Linked DNA regions of Homo sapiens: region 1 is linked to region 2. The links are contacts of gene promoters, found by promoter capture Hi-C in human tissues and cell types (Jung and others, 2019). All regions are on one chromosome and are shown on one strand. The core of a region is centred on a gene start or on the middle of the fragment in contact, and the rest is flanking DNA. Distances in the headings are between cores, read along the strand shown.

What was found. The method cuts DNA at HindIII sites, captures the fragments that hold promoters and counts their contacts. A contact is called where the count stands out against the background at its distance.
Region 1: a contact is called between a fragment that was not itself captured here and the fragment with the promoter of SAG in region 2, in 3 of the 25 tissues and cell types used here (adrenal gland, mesenchymal stem cells and pancreas).

Annotation. Positions count from the first base shown.
Region 1 is chr2:233,344,859-233,348,760 of GRCh38, reverse strand. SAG (S-antigen visual arrestin) reads right to left here. Exons shown (of 16, transcript NM_000541.5): 15 at 2,349-2,358; 16 at 1,706-1,954. The coding sequence ends at 1,849. Among named protein-coding and RNA genes, the nearest start is that of DGKD, 7.7 kb to the left of the region's middle. The HindIII fragment of the contact is 4,969 bases long and covers 1-3,902 here.
Region 2 is chr2:233,306,169-233,310,023 of GRCh38, reverse strand. It overlaps SAG (S-antigen visual arrestin), which reads right to left and starts at 2,208. Exons shown (of 16, transcript NM_000541.5): 1 at 2,002-2,208; 2 at 760-862. The coding sequence starts at 834. The HindIII fragment of the contact is 6,559 bases long and covers 716-3,855 here.

The sequences.
Region 1 (3,902 bases), core at 967-3,466, 39 kb before region 2:
ATCCTCCTCCCAATGCCAGGATGCGTGAGCCAGCACACGGGTCCACACCTCGCTTTGTCTGGGATCCCATCCAAGCTTCCCAAGTGGAGCCTCCTCATCTAAATCCCAATCTCCAGGACCCGAACAGCTGGAATCCTTCTGAACAACCCCAGATGCTGGGAACCTTCATGTGTATGGAACCCATACCCTGGCCAGCCCTCTGTCGCCATGTTCCATCCCAGAAGCCTGATCCACGTGTACTCCCCATCTAGAACCCCTCCCACTCACCCTCTGCCTTCTGTGAGTGGGTTGAACTGTGGAGGAATCTCCAACCCCCCTTTACCCTGCTCCCTTAAAGCATGGACCAGAGATGGACCAGAGCCTATGCATCTCCATCCTCTCCTTGGCCGCCATGAGCCTGTTCAGTATCTGTGCCATCAGCAGCAGGCCCGGTGGGTACCTCAGGGCAGGAAGGGACCCCACAAAGGAAAGGCCCTGGTATCACCTCTATTATCCCTCCTCCACCTGCAGTTCACCTTCCTCCCTGACACTCAGAGTGCTCTCCCCTATGCCTCTCACGCCCAGTCTCAGTGAAGCACGCTCTAAGTAAGCCCATGTGACTCACAATCAACCCCCTTTTCTGGGACTCTCCATCTCCAGGGCTGGGCTCTGCCATCGCTGACCACGGGGTGTTGATCCTCCCAGCCAAAGCTGAGCCAGTTGGATTCTCCTTCCCAATAACTGCCCACTGGGACCAAGAGACGCAGAGCTGGGAACGTATGGTGCTGAGCTGCATGAAGAGCCGCCCTGGAGAGTGGGTCCCTGACCCCTGAAGCTTCTCTGATTCCTGCTTACCCCAGGTGTGGCAGCTCAGGTTTGTCCTTCAGTTCTCTGATCACACCGGGGTCCTCCCACTACATTCCTTCTCCCCACCTTAATTTAACCAAATCTGATTTTGCTTCTTGCATTGAATAGAACTTTACCAACAACCCAAAGCTCAAACAGACACCTGGACCCAAAAGTTGAATCATTAACCAAGAGTATTTTTGTCCACAGATGTTCTCTGCCCTATTTAACTTAGGAGGCTCTTTAGGGGCCTGGAAGTTGGGACTGGTCAGGTAATTAGAAACATACACTGGTGGCCAGGCGCAGTGGCTCACGCCTGTAATCCCAGCACTTTGGGAGGCTAAGGTGGGTGGATCACCTGAGGTCAGCAGTTTGAGACCAGCCTGGCTAACATGGTGAAACCCTGTCTCTAATAAAAATACAAAAAATTAGGCGGGCATGGTGGCACACGCCTGTAATCCCAGCTACTCAGGAGGCCGAGGCAGGAGAATGGCGTGAACCCGGGAGGCGGAGCTTGCAGTGAGCTGAGATCACGCCACAGCACTCCAGCCTGGGCAACAAGAGCGAAACGAAGGAAGGAAGGGAGGGAGGGAGGAATAAAGGAAGGAAGGAAGGAAGGACAGACGGACAGACGGGAAGGCACTGTTTCCAGAGAAACAGCTCAGACTGGGACTCCTAGGAAAGCCCCTGGACACACCGAGGGCCCCACCTGGTGAGCACATTGATTTCCAGACGCCTTCTCTCCCTCATGGGAGTGGTGAGCCCTTCCGTGGGAGGCTGGCCTCCCTCTCCCCAACCCTCCCACTCCAGGGACCCTAATGGTGGCAGCTTGTGTCATGTCATCAACTCAGCCTCCCCAACAAATCAACCAACTCATGACCCAGGGGAGAACAAACAAGCTTTATTTCTCGGAAGAAGACTCATCCTTTCATACGCAGCATAACTCCAAAGGACTAAACTGTGGGGCTTTGCTCGTTGCACTGGTAACTACAGGTCATTTTCCGGCATCCTGAGCCGACATCTTCACTCATCAACGTCATTCTTGTCTCTCTTCCCCTCCTCAGCTTCTCCTGCATCTTTCAGATTATGGCGAGCAAACTCCTCAAAAACTAAATTTGCATCCTGATAACTAAAATAAAACAAACAACATTTTGATCATTGCACGCCCTTTGAAGCTGAAACTGAAACAAGATCCTTGATCTTTTTGCAACGAAGGAACTGATCAAGGTTTTCCCCATGATAGAACATGGGGGCACGCCATTTTCCTCAAGGCTTCGTTTAAAATTCCTTTAACTAGCACCAATGGGAGAAAACAAAGGCACGCGCAGAGTGAGCAAGCACACCCAGTGTAATGGTGCGTGCGTGCCGTAAGCACTAGGGAGCAGACGGGAAGTAGCGGATGTGCCTCCTGAGCCGGCAGGAGAGCTTGGGATATGTGCAAAGACTCAAAGAGGGTTTTGTGCTGGAGGAGAAGGTCCCAGAGCATAGGACAAATCAGGGCCACATTCAAGAGGCTCACTCACCTTTCCTTAGCTGTAAGCATGGAATAAAAGGGAGGCAGGGAAGAGGGAGAGAGAGACATTTGTTAGTCTAAATTCTATATCATAGCTGTACCTAGAAAATGTCTACCTTTTAGGTGACTTTACAATTTGAGAGATAAGGCCTAGATACATGCAGTTCATGATCACTGCGTGTAATTCCTGCCTCCCTGCCTTTCCCACTGGAACAGCTTTTCTCCTTGCATTTTATTTATTTTATATTTTATTTTATTATTTTATTTTATTTGAGACTGTCTCTCTCTGTCACCCAGGCTGGAATGCAGTGCCACAATCTCTGCTCACTGCAACCTTTGCCTCCTGGTTTCAAGAGTTTCTCGTGTCTCAGGCTCCCAAGTAGCTGGGATTACAGGCATGCGCCATTATGCCTGGCTAATTTTTGTATCTGTAGTAGAGAAGGGGTTTCAACTATGTTGGCCAGGCTGGTCTCAAACTCCTGACCTCAAGTGATCTGCCAGCCTCAGCCTCCCAAGTGCTGGGATTACAGGCGTGAGCCACTGCGCCCGGCCTCTCCTTGCATTTTAAATCACTGCTTCCTTTACAATGTGCCACAGCCTTCACCTCCTCACATGAAACCCCCCCAGTCTCAACTCTAGGATGCTTTCCCTGATCAGCCTTGCCCCCTCTGATGTCGCTTCTCCTTTCTTATTTATTTATTTGAGATGGCATCTTGCTCTGTTGCCCAGGCTGGAGTGAAGTGGCACAATCTCGGCTCACTGCAACCTCCGTCTCCCAGGTTCAAGTGATTCTCCTGGCTTAACCTCCCAAGTAGCTGGGATTACAGGCACCCACCACCATGCCTGGCTAATTTTTGTATTTTTAGTAGAGACGGGGTGTCACCGTGTTGGCCAGGCTGGTCTCGAACTCCTGACCTCAAGTGTTCCGCCCGCCTTGGCCTCCCTGCCCAGCCAGTTGCTTCGCCTTTCAAAGTATTTCTCCTTCCATGTCCTCGGGACCCCATTGAGGTCAGGGTCGCCAGGGTGCCGTGAGCATGTGCACCCTGGCACCTCCATCTGTCAGGCTTCAGAGGCCTGAGACCTGGGACTTGACGTTCACCAGCACCCCAGGGTTAGAGTGTGCATTAAAGCTTGAGGACCAACCCCCAGCCGCAAAGTTTTCAATTTCTGTTAACATATTGATTTTGTTGTTGTTGAGTTATGTTTTCACATGTGTTGTATCCCCAGACTAACTGCTATTAATTTGAATGGTTTTTGTACTTTTTTAGCTTTCTGCCCACCTAGTTTTGGGGAGCACAGCGGCGATTTGATGGTGAGCCCCTACTCTCGCCTCTGGTGCCCACCTGGAAGCCAGCACTGGGAGGGAGTGTCTATGAGGGTCGCTACGTACAGGGGCCCTAGAGAGGCTAGCTTGTCAAAACATCCCCTGAGCAAGAAATACCCTGCGGCCCACAGTGCTCAGCGAAGAAATTACACTAAGCGGGACCATCAGCCTTGCAGAGGTAGACAACAAGGAAGAATCAAATCAGCATCTTCGGATTCAGTAAAGATGCCCTTGACAGGG
Region 2 (3,855 bases), core at 959-3,458:
GAGACCCCCCGGGTGGGGTAGGTGCACGGAGAAGAAGGAGTCACATTGATCACTGTCTGGGTTTTACCCAGGCAGGTGACACAATAGATAGACAAAAGGCCAAGGGCATCACAGGTACTGACAAAACTGTGTTTAAATAGTAAGTCAAGGGTTCAAGGCTGGCTAGGAAAAGATGCAGAGGTGGGGGTGACAGTGTGGGGATTGAGGGATTCGGAGAAAACTGAGGGACACAGGACTAAAGTCTTGATGAGACTGAAGAGAAGCTCTATTTCTGCAGTTCATTCACTCATTTATAGCTCAGTGATCATCCATCTTAGACAGAGACAAAAATAGACACAAAGCTTCCCTGGCCCTCACAGTGTTTGTTTGTTTTTTATTTGAGACAGAGTCTCCCTCTGCTACCCAGGCTAGAGTGCAGTGGCACCATCTGGGCTCACTGCAACCTGTACCTCCTGGGTTCAAGTGATTCTTGTGCCTCAGCCTCCCAAGTCTGGGATTACAGGTGCCTGCCACCATACCCAGCTAATTTTTGTATTTTTAGTAGAGATGGGTTTTGCCATGTTGGCCAGGCTGGTCTCGAACTCCTGGCCTCAAGTTATCCCGCCTCCGCCTCCCAAAGTGCTGGGATTACAGGCATGAGCCACCGCGCCCTGGCCCTCAAAGAGTTTTGATGTTGATCATGACTACACTGTACTTGAAAAAGCTCCATTTTTTTTAAACAATAATTTCTATCAAATCACTCACTTGTGCACCACTCACCGATTTGTCCCGGGAGATCTTCTTGAAGATAACATGGTTCGGTTCGGACTTGCTGGTCTTCCCGCTGGCTGCCATGTTATCTGTCCCTGGCAACTTCTACCACCTTGGGGTGTTGGTCAGGTGTTAGAGGGTTGGAGAAAGGTAAGACAATCCTAAATATCAAGTCAAGAACATCCTAGTTATGAAACCTACTCACGAGATCCTGTGCGTCCTCACCATGCCCTTGTACCGGCTTCAACATCCGAGTTTCATCGGTGAGTCTTTGCTTAGTTTGTATTTTACTGCAGCATGCTTTGGGGTGTTTTCAATATTTTATTTTTCTTGGTAAGCTTCAAACATTTCTCAGTACACCTTGCCAGGGAGTCTAGCTAGATTCCAATGAGGTTTTACTTTCTGACTAACCTTTGGTGTTATCACACTTAGCCAGGTTGAATTTAAAGTTCTATCGTGACTGTGTCTAATGGCGAATAAATCAGAAAAGTTCCTGAAAACCACAACATAACCACTTCGCAAAGACTGTTTTCAAGAAGATATTAATGGCCGGGCACTGTGGCTCACACCTGTCATCTCAACATTCTGGGAGGCTGAAGCGAGAGGATCATTTGAAACCAGGAGTTGGAGACTGGCCTGGGCAACATAGCAAGATCCTATCACTTTTTTTAAAAAAAAAGAATATATTAAAATCCCAAAAGTTCTATTTGGCAATTCCTACTAAGAGATAGCCACTCTGTTTTACAATTAAGAGGCCATCTTAGCGGTCTAGAATTAAGCATACTCTGAGGTTTTTTTTTTTTTTAAGATATAGGAGCTCGTTCTGTTGCCCAGGCTGGAGGGCAGTGCCACAATCATAGCTCACCGCAGCCTCGAACTCCTGGGCTCGTGATCCTCCTGCCTCAGCCAGCTGAGTAGCCAGGACTACAGGTGTGTGACACCATGCCTAGCTAATTTATTTTTATTTTTGTTTTTTTGTAGAGACTGGGTCTGACTGTATTGCTCAAGTTGGTCTCGAATTCCTGGCTTCAAGTGATCCTCCAGCCTCAGCCTCCTGAGTCACTGGGACTATAGGCATGAGCCATTGCACCCGCTCACTCCAAGTCTCCTTAAATAGCAACCAAGTCTTATGGAAACCACACAGAAAAGGTGAAGGCGGGACATACTGTCTGCAGGAAAACGCCCATCCTTGCTCTTCCCCACACCTGCCCCAGGTTTCTGATAAGGTTTTGGCCTGTGGTGGTCACATACCTTGTGATTTGTCACCAACCAGGTGGGAAGGGCCGGGTGGCAAGGAGAGGGTCTCTATGCTCTGAGATGATGAATAGCCAGCCCCTGTTCTGAGCAAGCTGGTACCGTCTTGCCAGATGAGCCTGAAGGGGCACCGCTGAGGCTCCTGGCCTACGTATGTGGGGAATTTGTAGGGGATCTAGCGAGGATGCCCAGCATCCAGGTCTCAATGTCTAAAAGCCAAATCCCACTTAAGGAGCAGAGTTGGATTAGTGCTGAGACAGTGAACTGGTAGTTTCAGCAGTTCTAAGCATTAAGCAACACCCCCCGCCCCGGTCTCCATACGGAGGGTCTCACAGATGTATGAGTCACCCAGCTGACTTGGGGAAGGTTGGTGGGAGGGCCAACAGCTAAATGAAAGCTACTTTTTCTTCTAAACCTCTTTGGATTCTGGAAATAGACTGATTATCTCTTCATTCCCGGGCATTGCCAGGACAGGAAGAGATTTGATTAAACTCAGCAGGCAGCTAATGCGACCTTGCGGGTGGGGACTAAACAAAAAGGTCAAGGAGAAATGTCAACCTCAAGATGAACCTGGTGTTATGCAAGCCAAGCTGGATCTGTCCCTCTCCTCCACCCGGTCCTACTGATTGATGGCTTCAGGAGTCCTGTTGATCCCCTCAGTGTCTCTGGAACCTGTCTGCATCCTCCCATCCCCAGCACCGCCTTTGCTTCTCAGGACCGGAGTGATTCCCCACTGTCTGACTACATCTATTTCTTTTCTTTTTTTTGTTTTGTTTTTTGTTTTGAGATGGAGTCTTGCTCTGTCTCCCAGGCTGAAGTGCAGTGGTGCAGTCTCAGCTTGCTGAAACTTCTGCCTCCCAGGCTGAAGTGCAGTGGTGCAGTCTCAGCTTGCTGAAACTTCTGCCTCCCAGGTTCAAGTGATTCTCTTGCCTCAGCCTCCAGAGTAGCTGGGACTACAGGCGCCTACCACCACACTGAGCTAATTTTGTATTTTTAGTAGAGACAGGGTTTTACTATGTTGGCCAGGCTGGTCTCGAACTCCTGACCTCAGGTGATCCACCTGCCTCGGCCTCCCAAAGTGCTGGGATTCCAGGAATGAGTCACCGCACCCAGCCGACCACATTTATTTCTACCCTCCAAGCCCTTTTCCACACAGAGGCAGAGAGACCTTCTGAGCCCTGTCATCCCTCGCTTACAATCACCCATTGCTCTTAGAATGCAGGCAAAAAGCTTGCAGCCTCTGGAACCTCTGCCTGCCTTTCCTTCCACGCCGTCTGCCACGCTTCCTCCTTCCCACTATTATTTCTGCCTGGAACAAGCCTCTCCTCTCTCCACTTTGTTGACTCTTCTTGGCCTTTCAGATTTTTGACCAGGAGTCACTTCCTCAGGGGAGCTATCCCCAACCTCCAGGACCAGATTGGAGGCACGCTTGCATTTCACTCTTTTTTTTTTTTGCTTTCGAGATAGAGTCTCACTCTGTTGCCTGGGCTGGAGTGCAGTGGCGCGATCTCGGCTCACTGCAGCCTCCACCTCCTGGGTGCAAGCGATTCTCCTGTCTCAGCCTCCCGAGTAGCTGGGATTACAGTTGTGCACCAGCATGCCCAGCTAATTTTTGTATTTTTAATAGAGATGGGGTTTCGTCATGTTGGCCAGGTTGGTGTCAAACTCCTGGCCTCCTGAAGTGCTGGGATTATAGGCATGAGCTACCGTGCCTGGCCACATTTCACTCTTGCTTGGGAATTATTCTACAGTCTCTCTTCCCTCACTGGAGTCCAGGCTCCATGAGGGCAGGGCCTAGGCCATTTTGTTTCCTTCACTTTTGTCTTCACAGTGCCCAGAACAATGCCTGCT